Linked DNA regions of Homo sapiens: regions 1, 3 and 4 are each linked to region 2. Evidence: promoter capture Hi-C in 16 types of primary human blood cells and fetal thymus (Javierre and others, 2016). All regions are on one chromosome and are shown on one strand. The core of a region is centred on a gene start or on the middle of the fragment in contact, and the rest is flanking DNA. Distances in the headings are between cores, read along the strand shown. Region 1 overlaps RPA1 (replication protein A1). Region 2 holds the start of SMG6 (SMG6 nonsense mediated mRNA decay factor). Region 3 has its middle 78 kb from the start of RPA1. Region 4 overlaps RPA1 (replication protein A1).

Region 1 (4,323 bases), core at 55-2,554, 420 kb before region 2:
GGCTTGGCCTCCTTCGCAGGTGTATTATTTCTCGAAAGGCACCCTGAAGATTGCTAACAAGCAGTTCACAGCTGTTAAAAATGACTACGAGATGACCTTCAATAACGAGACTTCCGTCATGCCCTGTGAGGACGACCATCATTTACCTACGGTTCAGTTTGATTTCACGGGGATTGATGACCTCGAGAACAAGTCGAAAGACTCACTTGTAGGTAAGCTCGTGTATGAGAAGGAAGAGCAGGGATGACTAGCTTTCTTTGCAGTGTACGGGGTGGTGTCAGGCTTCAGTGCTTGCCGTTCATCATTTGCTGGCGTCGGAATGGGAGTCTTGACCACCTCCTGCTAACACGTGCATGTGTTTTAGACATCATCGGGATCTGCAAGAGCTATGAAGACGCCACTAAAATCACAGTGAGGTCTAACAACAGAGAAGTTGCCAAGAGGAATATCTACTTGATGGACACATCCGGGAAGGTGGTGACTGCTACACTGTGGGGGGAAGATGTAAGTGCTGGGATGGGGTCTTCAACACGCACAGGACCTCCTGGGGTTGGGGCGTGGTCTTGTCCTATAGGATGGGGCCTTCAGCACACACAGGAGGAGCTCCTGGAGTTGGGGGAGGGAGTGGTCTTATCCTATAGGATGGGGCCTTCAGCACACACAGGAGGAGCTCCAGGAGTTGGCGGAGGGGGCATCTTGTCCTATAGGATGGGGCCTTCAGCACACACAGGAGGAGCTCCTGGAGTTGAGGGAGGGAGGGGTCTTGTCCTATAGGATGGGGCCTTCAGCACACACAGGAGGAGCTCCTGGAGCTGGCGGAGGGGGCGTCTGTTCCTATAGGATGGGGCCTTCAGCACACACAGGAGGAGCTCCTGGGGTTGGGGGAGGGAGGGGTCTTGTCCTATAGGATGGGGCCTTCAGCACACACAGGAGGAGCTCCTGGGGTTGGCGGAGGGGGCGTCTTGTCCTATAGGATGGGGCTGTTAGCACACACAGGAGGAGCTCCTCGTGGGGGCGGTTTTGTCCTATGAGTTGGGGGCTTTCACCATGTAGATGGGAAGGATTGTGCTGTCTGGTAAGTATTTAAAATCCTTTATCTTACTTCTGTGAGATTTGCTGTGATTCAAGCTTTACGCGGGGAAATGCTCTTTCCCCTAACTCTAGGAAAGCAGTGATAGTTTTGATGTGTCTCTGAGTAGATTCTCATGTGTGAGGTCTGTCTTGTATGGATTCCATGTACGCTGATTACATTCACTCTACTATTGAATGTTTGCCTTGTTTTCTATAAAAATCTTCTGTGTTCTTCCTGCTAGTGACACTTGTATATGTCTGGTGTTTCTTTTACAGGCTGATAAATTTGATGGTTCTAGACAGCCCGTGTTGGCTATCAAAGGAGCCCGAGTCTCTGATTTCGGTGGACGGAGCCTCTCCGTGCTGTCTTCAAGCACTATCATTGCGAATCCTGACATCCCAGAGGCCTATAAGCTTCGTGGATGGTAGGTTTTGTGGGGCTAAACAAAGGGTTACTTGAGGCTGGGCTTTGAGAAAAGCTGGTTACAATCAGCATGGGAGCTTTCTGCCAAGCAGAAGCCTTCGTCCCTGAGTGGTGCAGCTTCCGTGTTTCTTGAAGGCATTATGCCTTCTGTGAGGAGGGCTTTAAAGCCCTTAAACGGACAAACCTGTAATCCCAGGACAAACCTAGAGAGTCGGAGGAGGCAATTAGCATGTAAGTGCTGCCTGCTGACCTCGATCCTGCCAAAGGAGGGGACGGCCAGGCTTCAGCAGCGGTGTGCTGAAGGCGCCTTTCTTTCCAGGGTTTAGGCTCTGGGCCTCTGTGGCGTGGGGGAACACATGCTTTCTTTCTCTGTCAAGTCTTTGGTGCCGATCACATCTTCTAGTGTGTATTCACTAGACTCTGATCAAGTGTGGTGAGAACAATGGGCTTTTTGTTAGGATTAGATTGTTATTCCCAAAGCACTCAAGGGATGAGGAGAGCCTGTTAAAATCTCCTCACTGTATCTAGCTTTTTAGGACATTCAAACTCTGTCTTAAAAGAGTACTTCAAACTGAGACACAGGATGCAAGAATTGATGTGGTCAGGGAAAACACTTTCACCCAAGCTTCAATAATTCCCATAGCTGTAGTCTATGGGGGGGAAGTGTGTCAGTTTCCAGCTGTGTCTTAGGATTTAAGCAGCTAAAGAATGAGCTCATTTTACATACTCCTCCTTTGTTTTGAGTCATTTAAACCAATGGCACTGGTGTTTGACCAGTTTCATGAAGCATCTTCTGGAATGTTCATGTCACTGAGCCATCCTCATGAGTAGTACGGTCCACACGTATCTGCCGAACTGCAGGGCCCGTTCATAGTCTGACCAGAACTAGCCACAGATTTGCTTTTTTCTTATTGCTTGATTTTCTTTTAGGCTCTGGAGTTCGACTCCAGGTTAATTGCATTCCCACATTAAAATCGCATTCCCACATTAAAATTGCATTCCCACATTAATGTCTTCATCTTTTACTTGTCAATAATCATGATCCCAGTCAACATAAAAAGCACGGCTGTCCCCAGAATAAAATAACTTGGCATTGATCAAAGACAAGCTCAGTGCATACATGATACCTGGACAAGGATTAGAGATGTTTAGATCTTGGCTATAACAATGCAGAGTTTTTATTGTAAGAAGGGCCGCCTTGACTCCTGACGAGTGATCTTTGGTGGCAAATGTCTCCTTGGAGCTTTTGAAACCGTGAACTTGTGTAGCTAGTAGTGGTGAAACAGATGGATGGGCCTTGCTGTGCCCCTGTGAGGGATTTAGCCGCTTACCTGACAGGAGAAGGCAGCTGTCTGCAGCTCAGGGTAACATCCATTCTGTTAGATGGTCTCTGTTTAAGGAACCTGTTCTTTGTGTGGTTACCCACCTTGGGATGGTATTTGGCCTTTCATCTCCGGCCAGCTCCTCTCCGCCACCACTGTGTTCCCGAGCCACTTTCTCCTTGGCCCCTTTTCCTTCATATCAATTGATGTGTGATCAAGAAGTACAATCAGTTTTCATAATAATTTAATACAAATTAATTTAGCTTCGATATTAGCAAAAGTAAAATTTCACTAAGAAGGTAAATCTACAAGAAAAAAGATAATGCCTTCTGATAAGTTGCTCTGGTTTATAAAATCTTTTGGGCCAGGCACGGTGGCTCATACCTTAATTCCAGCACTTTGGGAGGCCGAGGTGGACAATTGCTTGAGGCCAGGAGTTCAAGACCAGCCTGGCCAACATGGTGAAACCTCGTCTCTACAAAAAATACAAAAATCAGCCGGGCCTGTAGTCCCAGCTACTCGGTGCGTGCCTGTAGTCCCAGCTACTCGGGAGGCTGAGGCACGAGAATCACTTGCCAGGAGGTGGAGGTTGCAGCGAGCCAAGTTGGTACCACCACACTCCATCCTGGGTGACAAAGCAAGACTCTGTCTCAAAACAAAAAAACCACTTTTGGCTTCTGTATCAGGCATAGGAGGCCTTTTATGGAAACACTTTTGCTACCACGGTATATTGGCTGTCCGTTTCCACACTGGTACATTTCGGTGATGATCACCACGCAGCTGCTGCCTGAGAATGAGCATTAGCAGATTAAAGGACTACCCCAGACGGCCACTTTATAGCTTACGGGTTGTTGACTTTCCCAGTTTCTGATTTTAGGCCTGGGGTGGTCTGGCCACTGCCAATATGCAAGGCTAGTTTAAGAAAAGATTCTTTGGTACTTTGGCACTGATTCTCTTCACCACTGGGGGGCATCAAAGCAACTGAGATTCAAAGAAAGGTCATTCCGTTTCTTCAGTAGACTTTGGGCCAGGAGCAGTGCCTCACGCCCTGTAATCCCAGCACTTTGGGAGGCCGAGGGAGGAGGATTGTCTGAGTCCAGGAGTTTGAGATCAGCCTGGCCAACAGAGCAAGACCCCATCTCTTAAAAAAATTTTTTTTTCGAGACGGAGTTTCGGTCTTGTTGCCCAGGCTGGAGTGCAATGGCGCCATCTCGGCTCACTGCAACCTCCGCCTCCTGAGAATTGCCTACAAGTGATTCTCCTGCCTCAGCCTCCCGAGTAGCTGGGATTACAGGCACCCACCACCACGCCCGGCTAATTTTGTATTTTTAGTAGAGACGGGGTTTCACCATGTTGGCCAGGATAGTCTTGATCTCTTGACCTCGTGATCCGCCCGCCTCATCCTCCCAAAATGCTGGGGTTACAGGCATGAGCCACTGCGCCCAGCCTAAAAAAAATTTTTTTAATGGGCCTGGGCATGGAAGTCCCAGTTACTTAGCAGGGCAA
Region 2 (4,151 bases), core at 956-3,455:
CGCCTGTAATCCCAGCACTTTGGGAGGCCGTGGTGGGTGGATCACGAGGTCAGGAGATCGAGACCATCCTGGCTAACACGGTGAAACCCCGTCTCAACAAAAAATACAAAAAATTAGCCGGGCGTGGTGGTGGGCGCCTGTAGTCCCAGCTACTCGGGAAGCTGAGGCAGGAGAATAGCGTGAACCCAGGAGGCGGAGCTTGCAGTACGCGGAGATCGCGCCAGTGCACTCCAGCCCAGCGGACAGATACTTACTTAAGTATCTGGTTTTTTAAAAAAGTATCTGTTACCGTTATCAAAAGTAACCACTAAACATTACAATGGAAAAGTGACAGAATTCGGGAGAATATTATCAAGTACACAAATGGAATGCTATATAAAATCCTAGCATAGGCCAGGTGCAGTAGCTCACGCCTATAATCCCAGCACTTTGGGAGGCTGAGGCGGGAGGACTGCTTGAGGCCAGGAGTTCGAGATCAGCCTGGGCAACATGGCAACACCCTGTCTCTATAACGTATACAAAAAATAGCCAGGTGTGGTGGTGCAGGTCTGTAATTCCAGCTACTCGGAAGGCTGAGGTGGGAGGATCACTTGAGCACAGGAGGGGGAGGCTACAGTGAGCTGAGATCCCTCCACTGCACTCCAGCCTGGAAGACAGAGTGAGACCCTGCCTCAAAAAAATTGGCCGGGCACGGTGGCTCACGCCTGTAATCCCAGCACTTTGGGAGGCCAAGGCGGGCGGATCACGAGGACAGGAGTCCAGACCATCCTGGCCAACACGGAGAAACCCCGTCACTACAAAAATACAAAAAATTAGCCAGGCGTGGTGGCACACGCCTACAGTCCAAGCTACTGGGGAGGCTGAGGTAGGAGAATGGCGTGAACCCGGGAGGCGGAGGTTGCAGTGAGCAGAGATCGCGCCACTGCACTCCAGCCTGGGCGACAGAGCTAGACTCCGTCTCAAAAAATAATAATAACAACAATAAAAAAGTTTTTAATCCTAGTATTGCTCTCTAAATATAAATGGAAACAAGCCCAAAACAGGAATCATATGCTCCAGCAAGTACATTTACTGTTTGTAGGTGTAAGGAAAAGGGGAAGAAAAGAGACTGAGGTTTTGGATAGTGCTTCACTATTTTCATAAGTTTAAAAGGTAGGTTCATGAAGTATCCACAAAGATAAAGCAGTTTAACCCAAGAATAGCTCACCCTCGGCAGTCTGTAACTTGGTGGGGGGCGGGGGGATGGGGAAAGCTATTCCTACTACTTTCTAGAGCAGCGGGAGAAAATAGCCTTAATAATCCAATTATGTTAATCAACAAAAACCAATTTCACAGACTGGCCGCAAACCTAGAGAAGGCACCTATCACAGCTACCATTCTACACAACTCTATTGCCTAACGCAGGAGAGGTGAGACACTTAGAATCTTTCTTACTTTCCTGACGTGGCTGGAGACTTGAAATTAACTTGCAAATTGAGCATTCTCTCTAATAAAAACTGCTCCCACACATGCCAGGGCCAAACCCGAGTAGTCTGAGGTCCCGGATCCCTCCAGTGGCGCAGCTTTCGGAAGCCTGTCTTGGGGGGGAAAAGTTCAGCAACGAAGTCGCAGGCTCTTAAACCTTTCTCCCCAATTCCTTCTCTCCGACGTTAAAGCGGTGGCCGGGGCAGGCCCGCGGAGGGCGGCCTGGAGAGCGATACGCCCGGGGCCTCCACCAGACCCCACTCCTTTCCGCGTCTCCCGATGCCTGGGAATCCGGGGCGGGTCTGAGAGGGCTGGGGCAAAAGGAACAGTCACCTTCGCGGCGAGAAAGAGGGTGGAGGCAGGAATTCGGGCCAGGCTCTCCCGGAGCTGGCCAGGACTGGCCGAGCCCGACCCCGCACTAACCCGCGAGAGAGGTAGGGCAGCGAGGGTCCGCCGCGGCCCCAGCGCCTACTGCTGGGGGAAGGGGCGGGGGCTCCGGAGCCGAGGGCCGAGCGGGGAGGAGGCAGAGGAGGAGGAGAGGGAGGCGGGGCGGGCAGGCCCGGCCCAGGAGCTGGGCGGCGCGACTCACCTCTGCTCCCGGCCTGCGGGGCCAGAGTAGCCAGGATCCCGCGCAGCTCCGACGCGGAGATCCGCACACGCTCCAGCCCTTCCGCCATCTTCGCGGCTGCTGCTACAGCCGTAGCGGCTCCGCCACCGCCGCGCGCAGCCAGGAAACCACCACAGACGGGCGGCGCGCGCGCTCGCCCACCTCCCGGCCTTTCCCCGCCCCCTGCCGCCCTCCCTTTCCGAACGACGGTGGCCGCGCTGGGAGGAAAAGCGCCCGCCGCCGGTTCCAGAGGGGCGGGACCGGAGCGAGAGCCTGGGTGGGGCGGGCGGGCGCTGCGCGTGCGCAGAGGTGCGGCCGGGGAGGCGCGCGGAGGCTGGAGCTGGAGGCGCGGCGCCGGTGAGCTGAGGTGAGGCGAGGCCGGGCCGTGCCAGGCCAGGCGGGCGTTTGCGGCGGTGGCTGCCGTTGCTGTTGTCGTGGACACCAAGGACACTGCTAGTCTGGGACTCGGGTTGACAGAGACACCCCTCAGCCTGGGCTCCTCTGGACACCTTAGGCCAGGCTCTCCCGCCACAGGCCCGGCCTAGCGCCGCGGGCCATTACTTGGGACCTTGAAGATCTGCTAAGAGTAGTTGTTACTATTCCCTTTTTTTTTTAGTTGGAGTCTCGCTCTGTTGGAGACTCCCGGGCTGGAGTGCAGTGGCGCGGTCTCGGCTCACTGCAACCTCTGCCTCCTGGATTCAAGCGATTCTCCTGCCTCAGCCTCCCTAGTAGCTGGGATTACAGGTGCACGCCACCAAGCCCGGCTAATTTTTGTATTTTTTGTAGAGACGGGGTTTCACTAGGCTGGTCTCGAACTCCTGACCTCAGGTGATCCACCCGCGTCGGCCTCCCAAAGTGCTGGGATTACAGGCGTGAGCCACCGCGCCCGGCCGCCCCCTGACTTTTAAAAACTAGATACGATATAGTTGGAATCGTGTGGAAGGAAGTACATCAGGAGGCATATAAGTCCATTTGGGACCTGTAATCCCGGCGACTCGGAACGCTGAGACGGGCGGATCGCTTGAACCCGGGAGGCGGAGACTGCAGTGAGCCGAGATCGCGCCACTGCACTCCAGCCCGGGAGTCTCCAACAGAGCGAGACTCCGCCTCAAAAAAAAAAAAAAGTCAATTTGGGAATTTCTGTGTCACTATGGATTCTTGAAAAAAATTACTGCTGTGGATCTCAGGTTGACTTTTTAATTTCCCATCTTTAAAATTGAACTATACCAGAAGGCTGGTACTTGAATCTTTTTTTGGAGAACTGTACAGAGGTGAAGCTCCCTTCCCCAAGGCCTCCTGCCTCCACCTGTTGCCCCTCCACAGCCCCATAGGCTTTTACCCCACACCCATCACAGAATAGTTACCAATTATTCCTTAGTCTGAGCCGAAGGGATTGCCACAACCTCTGACAGAACTCCTTCAGTTCCTTTTACGTGACACTTTGTCACCGGAAGGTTAAGCATAAGAAGAAAGTCAGTAGATGATGGGTGAAAAGATCCAACAGTTCAGAAGAGGAACCATTTGAGTGGTCAGAGCAGAAGACAGCCTTTGCCACCAGATTTGAGAGAAATAGGAAGAAGCGTTAAAAAATAATCTGTTTCATATTGAAATTTGAGAGGCCATTGCATGATTTCTTTTTTCAGCTGGAAAAATAATGGAAAACAAGAAAACTTTCTTAGGACAAATGGCACCACCCATTTAATGCAACAGTGTCAGTGAACTGCAGATTAGATATGCCAAAAGTTAAACCAGTTCAAGAAAATTTACCAGAACTCAGAAGGAAAAGGTAATAGATAAAAACTGAGAGACAAAGATAGGAGACATGGAGAAGGGGTACAAAAAATTAATAATTAAATACGAGTTCCAGAAGGGGATAATACAGCTGACTGCAGAAGAGCAATAATCAAATAGTAGAAGAAAATTTACTACGTTGGTGGAAATTTTTGAATTATCAGATTTAAAGAATTCATGAAATACCAGGTAAAAAGAAATGACAAGAAAGACAACCATATTTAAGTCAGTATCACAATGAAAGCTGCTGAGATTTTTTGTTTTTCGTTTTTTTTGAGACGGAGTTTCA
Region 3 (4,264 bases), core at 791-3,290, 400 kb before region 2:
CGGTTCCCTTCCATCTCCGTCTGCTGGAGAATTGAAGGTGTTAGCAGGTTCACCGGGCAGCAACGCTCAGACCGATGTGCAGGCCACCGCCGCATGCTGCACGTGCCTCCTAATAGAACCTTGAGCTCCCGCAGCCAAGCCTCATTTTGTGTGTGTGTTATTAAAGTGCCGGTGACTAGGAAAAGCAGAGCCCTCTTAATTAGAGAGCGACATCCTTGCATAGTGGTAGTGTTCCGTTTGTGGCATAATTGTCACAGCAAATTACCAGTTAGGTTAAATATTGGGCTGGTAGTTCTCAGCGCTTCCATTCTTGGCTCCACCCCGCCCTCCCCACCCTCTCCTACCCTCACCATCACCTGCTAGCCTGCACTTTTAACTTGATCTTCTGCCAAGTGATAGCTTTTAAGTGAGGCTTAGAGCAGATACACTTTACAGCAGGAGCAATAAATCTAGCTTTGGGCAAGTTACAGGATGCCAGGAACATCTGAATGAGGGGGGCAATTTTTGCTGTGTGTATGGGGGTGTGCTGGGTCGTCTCGTGGGGCTCAGCTATAAAACTGGGTCCTCCGTATATCTGACATGGTGTCTGTCCCGTGAGAAGATACTTGAGGTGACACAAGAAATGTGAAGGAAATAGAAGACCTGGTCCCTTCTCATTATCCGTCCATGGCGGGGGGGGAGCCTCACAAAATGGAAGAGCACTTTCTATAAGCAAAACCAGAGTGACACAGAGGATGCTGAGTACGTGGTGTGTGAAGGGAGTCCAGTGAAGGAGAGCGGACAGTCTGGTGGAGGCAGACAAAAAACCTATGAGTTGTCATCGTGAAGTTGCAAAAAAGGGATTGGCTGGCCGGGCGCAGTAGCTCACGCCTGTAATCCCAGCACTTTGGGAGGCCGAGGTGGGTGGATCACCTGAGGTCGGGAGTACAAGACCAGCCTGACCAACATGGAGAAACCCCGTCTCTGCTAAAAATACAAAATTAGCCGGGGTGGTGGTGCATGCCTGTAATCCCAGCTACTCGGGAGGCTGAGGCAGGAGAATCGCTTGAACCCAGGAGACGGAGGTTGCAGTGAGCCGAGATCGCGCCATTGCACTCCAGCCTGGGCAACAAGAGCGAAACTCCGTCTCAAAAAAAAAAAAAAAAAAAAAGGATCGGCTGGAAGAAAAGTCCATTTCAAACTGAAGGACTGGCACGTTGCTCAGGAGCCAGTAAACCAGGTGCAGGTGATACCAAGAAAATTAGCTTGGTTTGAGTGGTGAGTCTTTGTAGAAAAATAAATGAGATTGCTGCACACTGGGAGGGCGGCCTGGATCTTCATTTCCTTGGAGCTTAAGACTTAAGCCCTGTGGAATGTAAGTCCTAGGAGTGTCCTTTGTCACTAATTGATCTTTCAGCTGCTCATAGAGCTGGCATTCTTGCAGGCCAGGTACACGAGAAGATAGAGCCGGAGCAGCCTGCCTCCGCTTAGCCAACTGCATAGCTGAGGAAATCCTGCCGGGCATGTTATTGGAGGGTTGTGCACTCTATTCCTCACGAGCTTCGTGCTGGGATGCTCATTTTCTCTGGACAAAGATAGACTGGCTCCCTCTCTTGTTGATGGAATGGAAATTCTCTCTTGCATTATGGTTTCTGTGATAACTTTGGTGGCGGTGGTGTGGGGATAATGAAGAGTCTCTTAATGGCTCTAGTTAAACCTGGTAATATCACTCTATCACACTGGAGCCGGCCGTGGGAATCTAACCCACTTTTGTATTCCTAAACGCCTAAAACCTGCCACTGGCATCTTCGCATAATAAGGAACCAGTCATCGCTCGTCTGTGTCCTGGAACATATTTATAAGCCTATGTTAATTTCTGGACTCCGGAATGGCGCCTCTTCCAATCCCAGCCCTCGGTCAGTCTCTCCGGATAGACTTGGGAAGTCAGGTCGTTTCAGCCACACATCACCATTCTCCGTCCCTGAGCCCGGCATGCTGGTTTAGTGCCCCCAAAGGAAGAGAACTCATTTTATTCTGGAAATTGGGAAAGTGAATTTGCTTCAGGACCTGCCTAGGTCTAATTAGTCCAGTCCGTAAGCAGGCCTGGCTCCGTGTCTGAGGCATGCGTGCACGTGGATGGTGTGTGTGCACACGTGTGTGTGGCATGTGCACGTGTGTGCCCTGGCAGCCACTATAACGTGCCCGGCAGTGGCCGCTGTTCGCCCAGGTTGGCCCAGTTCAGTCCTGCTTCTCAGGGTGGCTGGTAGATGTGGCCACCTTACAACCCCCAAAAGCCTTCCATGTGCACCCCCAACCCCCAAAAGCCTTCCATGCGCACCCCCAAATGGAGAAGGGGCCGGGTGGGGTGTCATTAGGAGATGGGGGCCACGTGCCAAGACAGAGGAAGGGGAAATGGGGAGAAAACAACAAGAAAAGGAATAGGTGGGGAGAGAGGTCATTTTAACCTAAATTAAATAATGGAAATGACCATTATGAACACAACGAGGGCAGGGATTCCGTAGCCAGAGCTGCGAGACCGTGACAAATGGCTCTCCAGGGAAACGGGGTGCAGCCTCCTCTCCTGGAAGTCAGGAAAGGGGTCTCTCCACCAACCAGGGGCGGGAGGCAGAGCCTGCGCTGCCGGATTTAGCCTGGAAGTTAAAATCGCTGAAGCAGTTTATAGAAACAGCAGAGTGAGCCGCCGCGCACAATCAGTAGGCAGGATCCAGAGACGATGGCATAAATGTTTCAAATGTGCTCAGGGTAATTAGTTTTGAATTACCATGTGCATATTTTAAACATTTAAATGATCATCCCAGGTTTTCGAAAACAGTTGCACGCGGCTTGATGTCACCTCCCCTCCCGGGCGGCCTCCCCAAGGGGACACAGCCAGGTGGGGCCTGCGGGTCCCGCGACCTCAGCCGGGGAGGGGCGCGCGCTAAGCCCGGGGATCAGCGCGGATTAGGCCGCAGCCCCGAGTCCTGGAGCAGCCGCTCGCCCGGGACTTCCCGTCCTCCAAGCCTGCGTCGGCTGTGCCAGGTTTTCAAGACGATCTGCTCAGCGTTTAGGTTTCCCATTGTGCATGAAAATGCAATTCCACGCGGGCAGTTTTTCTCCCCCGTTTGATTTCCTGGAGACCCGGGTGGCTGGGAAACTTGAAAGGTGACTGGCCAGGTGGGAACCGCGTTTGGTGTTTGAAGCCAGCCACCTTGTCCGCCAGTCTCTCGAGGCGACCTGCCTTGCAGCAACTCCATTCTCCCTGGGGTTCGACTCAGAATGCAAACGACGATTTCCAAATTCCCTAATTCCGGAGGCGCTGGGAGGGGCGAAGGTGTCAGGCCTGGACCCCCACCCCCCGCCCGCGCCTTCCCTGCCGGCTGCAGGGGCGGATCCAGGCTGCGCCCTGGGGTGTCTCACAGAGGCCCTGTCGGCGGGGCGCGGCGGGTCGGGGTGTCTAAAGTCAGATCCCTAACTTCAGACACCCGAATTTAGCATCGTGGCTTAGAAACGCTGCCCTGTGTCCCCTTCCTCCCGGTTACAAGCTGTTTCTCCAGCAGGTGGAGCTGGGAGAATAAAAACTATGAGCCTGTGCCTGGGACCTTGCAGAGGGAGCTATCTGTGCTGAAATCCTGGTTGAATGAAAATTGTTCATTATGCAAACTGTCTGGTTCAGTACACAGAGGCAGCCCCCAGGCGCAAACCCCAAGTAGCTGCTTCTTCTCTCCCCAGATTAAAACATATGAACTGCTTTGATGTAATCTTATAACAAAGCCTAATAGAAATTTTATTTCTTTGAAGTTGCCTGTCATTTCTTATTGCCCCCCTTCTCCCGTCCTATTAATACCCGTACAGTCTGGGATATGCAGCCGAGTTTAGACTGTATTTGACGATGGGAACAGTGTGTTTTCCTCGGCAGTGGTCTGAGTTATTTAAATGCAGTTACATTGCTTGCAATATGTTTAATCTCTTGGGCTTCCCCCCCGCCCACTGCTATTTATCATGTTAATAGAATGCTACAGAATATCACATTATGCAATGTGTTTAAATTGATAAATTATATTAGAAAAATATTGCATAGGCGTGTTAATGGTAAGTGGGTTTTTGTAGAAACAGTTTCTCATTAGTAGATCAGCTGCTCACAGGGTAGAAATTGTAAGGATTTGGGAATATGCTATATTTATGACCTATTTGGCTAATTAAAATTAAGGCATAATTTTAGCATGAAGTTACTGCAAGACTTTGCAGAGAGGGTGGGGAAAGAAACTTGCCCAAATCCAGTTACTTT
Region 4 (3,936 bases), core at 222-2,721, 440 kb before region 2:
TTTTCTATATCTTTACTGTTTTTCTGTTTACTTGTTCTGTCATTTACTGAGAGGGATATTGAAATCTCTAACTGTAATAATTGTAAGTTTCTCTGTCTCTCTGCAGTTCTATTAGTTTTTGCTTCATGTATTTCAAAGCTGTATTATTAAATATCTATATAATTTAGAATTCTTGTGTCCACTTGATGAGTTGACTCTTATTATTATGAAATGATTTTATCCCTGGGAAATTCTGTGCTTTGAAGTCTGCTTTGATATTAGCATAGCCACTTTGGCGTTTTTTTTGTTTTGTTTTGTTTTTTCTCTCCTAGAGACAACATCTTGCTCTGTTGCCCAGGCTGGAGTACAGTGGTACATTCACGGCTCAGTGCAGCCTCAACACCTTGGGCTCAAGCAATCCTCCCACCTCCGCCTCCTGAGTAGCTGGGACTACAGGCATGTGCCACCACGCCCAGCTAATTTTATTTTGTTTTTTATTTATTTATTTATTTTTGAGACGAAGTCTCACTCTGTTGCCAGGCTGGAGTGCAGTGGCGTGATCTCGGCTCACTGCAACCTCCGCCTCCCAGGTTCAAGCGATTCTCCTGCCTCAGCCTCCTGAGTAGCTAGGGCTACAGGCACGCATCACCATGCTCAGCTGATTTTTGTATTTTTAGTAGAGATAGGGTTTCACCATGTTGGCCAGGATGGTCTCCATCTCTTGACGTCATGATCTGCCCGCCTCAGCCTCCCAAAGTGCTGGGGTTAAAGGCGTGAGCCACCATAATTGGCCTAATTTTATTTTTTGTGGACATGGAGTCCTGCCATGTTGCCCACACTGGTCTTGAATTCCTGGCCTCCAGCAATCCTCCTGCCTCAGCCTCCCAAGTAGTTGGGACTGCAGGCTGCACCTGTAGTCTGGGAGGTGGAGTGCCGGGCCTGCCTGTGGACTGCCTGGACTGGGGCTGGGACGGCAGTGCCACCACGCCCGGCTCATTTCTTTTCTTTTTATTTGTAGGGGCGGGGTCTCACTTTGTTGCCCAGGCTGGTCTCAAACTCCTGGCCTCAATCCTCCTGCCTTAGCCTCTCAAAAGGCTGAATTACAGGCATAAGCTACTGTGCCTGGCCATTGTGTATACTTTCTATTGCTAGCCGTTCAAGTTCACTAATGGTTTCTCAGGCAGTGCCTAATCTGCTGTTAATCCCATTGAGTGTATTTTTCTTCTCAGATAGTATAGTTTTTATCCCTAGAAGCTTGATTTTGGGTCTTTAAAAACTCATCTACATCTCTGCTTAATTTTTGGGACATACAGAGCACAATGACAGTATTTGTTGTAAGGTCCTTGTCTGTGGATTCTGGTGTCTGTGTTAGGTCCGGATTTGTTTCCGTCAGTTGATCCCGGCCTCTCCGATCATGGATCATATTTTCCTGCTGCTTTTCATGCCTGGCCCTCGGACCGAATGCCAGACATTGGGATTCGTACCTCGTTGGGTGCTAGAAACTTTTGTAATCCTGTAATTATTCTTGAGCTTTTTTCAGGGATACAGTTAACTTGGAGACAGTTTGATCTTTTGGTGTGTTGCTTTTAAGATTTATTAGAGAATCAGAGAGCTGCATTTAGTCTAGGTGTAGTTATTCCCAATACTGAATCGAGACCTGACAGACTGTTCTACCTCGTGCCCCATGAATATGAATTTTTCCCATCTGACTGGTAGAAACAGGTACTATTTCAAGCTTGCTGTAAACACAGGCATGGTTCCCTCTGGCCTTCTCAGATGATTCTCACCCTGGCCTCAGATCGTGTCCACACACACACACGGGCCAACCAGGACTCTGCTGACTACCCAGGAAACCTGCCACCCATTTCTGGAGTTCTCTGTGTACAGCCCTCTCTTCTCTGCTACTCTGTCCGGCCAGCTAGACGGCGATCTCCCCAGACTCTCGGCCCCCATTTCTGCACCTCGGGTTCTGGCAGGCCCCCTAAGCCCTTGAGGCACTGAGCTGGTGCAGACCCACTCGCTCGCTTTCCTGTGCACAGCAGGCGCTACCCCTCATTGAAAACCATGCGTCTCACGTATTTTCTCCCTTTCTGGTGGGGGGAGGGGGTTATGTTAGGTGTTAGGGTGAACCTGGTCTCTGTTGCTCCATTTGTCCGGTACGTAGTTTTAAAAGTTGAATATTTTTGCGAGGTGTGTCCTTAAAAACAAAACAGCATTCTCCTGCCTCACTTTTCTTTGGCCTCTGACTCCTGTCTAGAGACAGTCTGTTTCAAATCTCACAGCTGTTTCTTCTCTGTTTGTCTCCATATTTCTAAATAACACATTTGTGCTGCTCTTCGTTAATTTTTTCAGTTGAAACATTTGTTTATTAACTTCACGCTATGGGAGATTAGAATGTGGTGCTCTCTCTTTTTTTTTTTTCTTTTTTAAGAGTCTCACACTGTCACCCAGGCTGGAGTCCAGTGGCGTGATCTTGGCTCACTGCAACCTCCGCCTCCTGGACTCAAGCAATCCTCCTTGCCTCAGCCTCCTCAGTAGCTGGGATTACAGGCGTGCACCACTGCACCCTGCTAATTTTTGTTTTTATTTTTTTATTTTTTGAGACGGAGTCTCACTGTGTCGCCCAGGCTGGAGTGCAGTGGCGCGGTCTCGGTTGACTGCAAGCTCCACCTCCCGGATTCACGCCATTCTCCTGCTTGAGTAGCTGGGACTACAGGCACCCACCACCATGCCCGGGTGATTTTTTTTGTATTTTCAGTAGAGACGGGGTTTCACTGTGTTAGCCAGGATGGTCTCCATCTCCTGACCTCGTGATCTGCCCGCCTCAGCCTCCCAAAGTGCTGGGATTACAGGCGTGAGCCACCGCCCCCAACCGTATTTTTTTTTTTTTTTTTTTTTTTTTGTAGCGATGGAGTCTATGTTGTCCAGGCTGGTCTTGAACTCCTGGGCTCAAGCAATCCGCCCACCTGAGCCTCCCAAAGTGCCAGGATTACAGGTGTGAGCCACAGCGCCCAGCTTAGAATGTAGCTCTCTTATACCTCTCTTGTCCCTGCTGTCCACATGGAAGAAGTAGATGTTAATATCGATTAGCTCAATATTTATTTATTTATTTATTTATTTGAGATGGAGTCTCACTTTGTTGCCCAGGCTGGAGTGCAGTTGCATGATCTTGGCTCACTGCAACCTCCACCTCCCAGTTCAAGCTATCCTCATGCCTCAGCCTCACCAGTAGCTGGGATTACAGGCACACACCACCATGCCCAGCTAATTTTTGTATTTTTAGTAGAGATGGGGTTTCACCATGTTGGCCAGGTTGGTCTCGATCCCCTGACCTCAAGTGATCCGCCCACCTTGACCTCCTAAAGTGCTAAGATTATTGGCGTGAGTCACTGTGCCCAGCTTTTTTTTTTTTTTTTTTTTTTGAGATGAAGTTTTGCTTTGTTGCCCAGGCTGGAGTGCACTGGAACGATCTCCGCTCACTGCAACCTCCCCCGGGTTCAAGTGATTCTCCTGCCTCAGGCTCCCAAGTAGCTGGGATTACAAGTGCCCGCCACCACGCCCAGCTAATTTTTGTATTTTTAGTAGAGACGAAGTTTCACCATGTTGGCCAGGCTAGTCTCGAACTGCTGACCTCAGGTGATCTGCCTGCCTCAGCCTCCCAAAGTGTTGGGATTACAGGCGTGAGCCACCGTGCCCGGCCAAGATTTATTTATTTAGTTATTTGGAGACAGGTTCTTGCTTTGCCATCCAGGCTGGAGTGCAGTGGCTCAAAAAGGGCTTACTGTAGCCTCAACCTCCCAGGCTCAAGTGATCTTCCCACCTCAGCTTTCCCAGTAGCTGGGAGCGTGAACCACCACGCCCAACTAATTTATTTTATTTTATTTTATTTTATTTTATTTTATTTTATTTTTTTGAGACGAGTCTCACTCTGTCACCCAGGCTGGAGTGCAATGGCAC

Evidence for each region. Contacts are between HindIII fragments. The CHiCAGO score rates a contact against its expected background, and 5 or more counts as called.
Region 1: a contact is called between a fragment that was not itself captured here and the fragment with the promoter of SMG6 in region 2, in 3 of 17 cell types (endothelial precursors, M1 macrophages and M2 macrophages). The highest score is 11.1, in endothelial precursors.
Region 3: a fragment that was not itself captured here is called in contact with the fragment with the promoter of SMG6 in region 2 in 4 of 17 cell types (M1 macrophages, M0 macrophages, endothelial precursors and 1 more); the score reaches 7.4 in M1 macrophages.
Region 4: a contact is called between a fragment that was not itself captured here and the fragment with the promoter of SMG6 in region 2, in 6 of 17 cell types (M1 macrophages, endothelial precursors, M2 macrophages and 3 more). The highest score is 8.7, in M1 macrophages.

The regions. Positions count from the first base shown.
Region 1 is chr17:1,879,196-1,883,518 of GRCh38, forward strand. It overlaps RPA1 (replication protein A1), which reads left to right. Exons shown (of 17, transcript NM_002945.5): 10 at 20-212; 11 at 365-504; 12 at 1,348-1,496. Among named protein-coding and RNA genes, the nearest start is that of RPA1, 51 kb to the left of the region's middle. RefSeq lists a silencer at 3,827-3,876. The HindIII fragment of the contact is 357 bases long and covers 1,127-1,483 here.
Region 2 is chr17:2,301,580-2,305,730 of GRCh38, forward strand. It overlaps SMG6 (SMG6 nonsense mediated mRNA decay factor), which reads right to left and starts at 2,206. Exons shown (of 19, transcript NM_017575.5): 1 at 2,054-2,206. The coding sequence starts at 2,141. It overlaps SRR (serine racemase), which reads left to right and starts at 2,371. Exons shown (of 8, transcript NM_021947.3): 1 at 2,371-2,438. RefSeq lists enhancers at 464-1,278, 1,608-2,334 and silencers at 1,836-2,045, 2,236-2,455. The HindIII fragment of the contact is 10,069 bases long and covers 1-4,151 here.
Region 3 is chr17:1,905,377-1,909,640 of GRCh38, forward strand. No RefSeq gene overlaps it. Among named protein-coding and RNA genes, the nearest start is that of RPA1, 78 kb to the left of the region's middle. RefSeq lists enhancers at 1,784-2,292, 2,293-2,800. The HindIII fragment of the contact is 5,203 bases long and covers 1-4,264 here.
Region 4 is chr17:1,859,339-1,863,274 of GRCh38, forward strand. All of the region lies in intron 5 of RPA1 (replication protein A1), which reads left to right. Among named protein-coding and RNA genes, the nearest start is that of RPA1, 31 kb to the left of the region's middle. The HindIII fragment of the contact is 481 bases long and covers 1,232-1,712 here.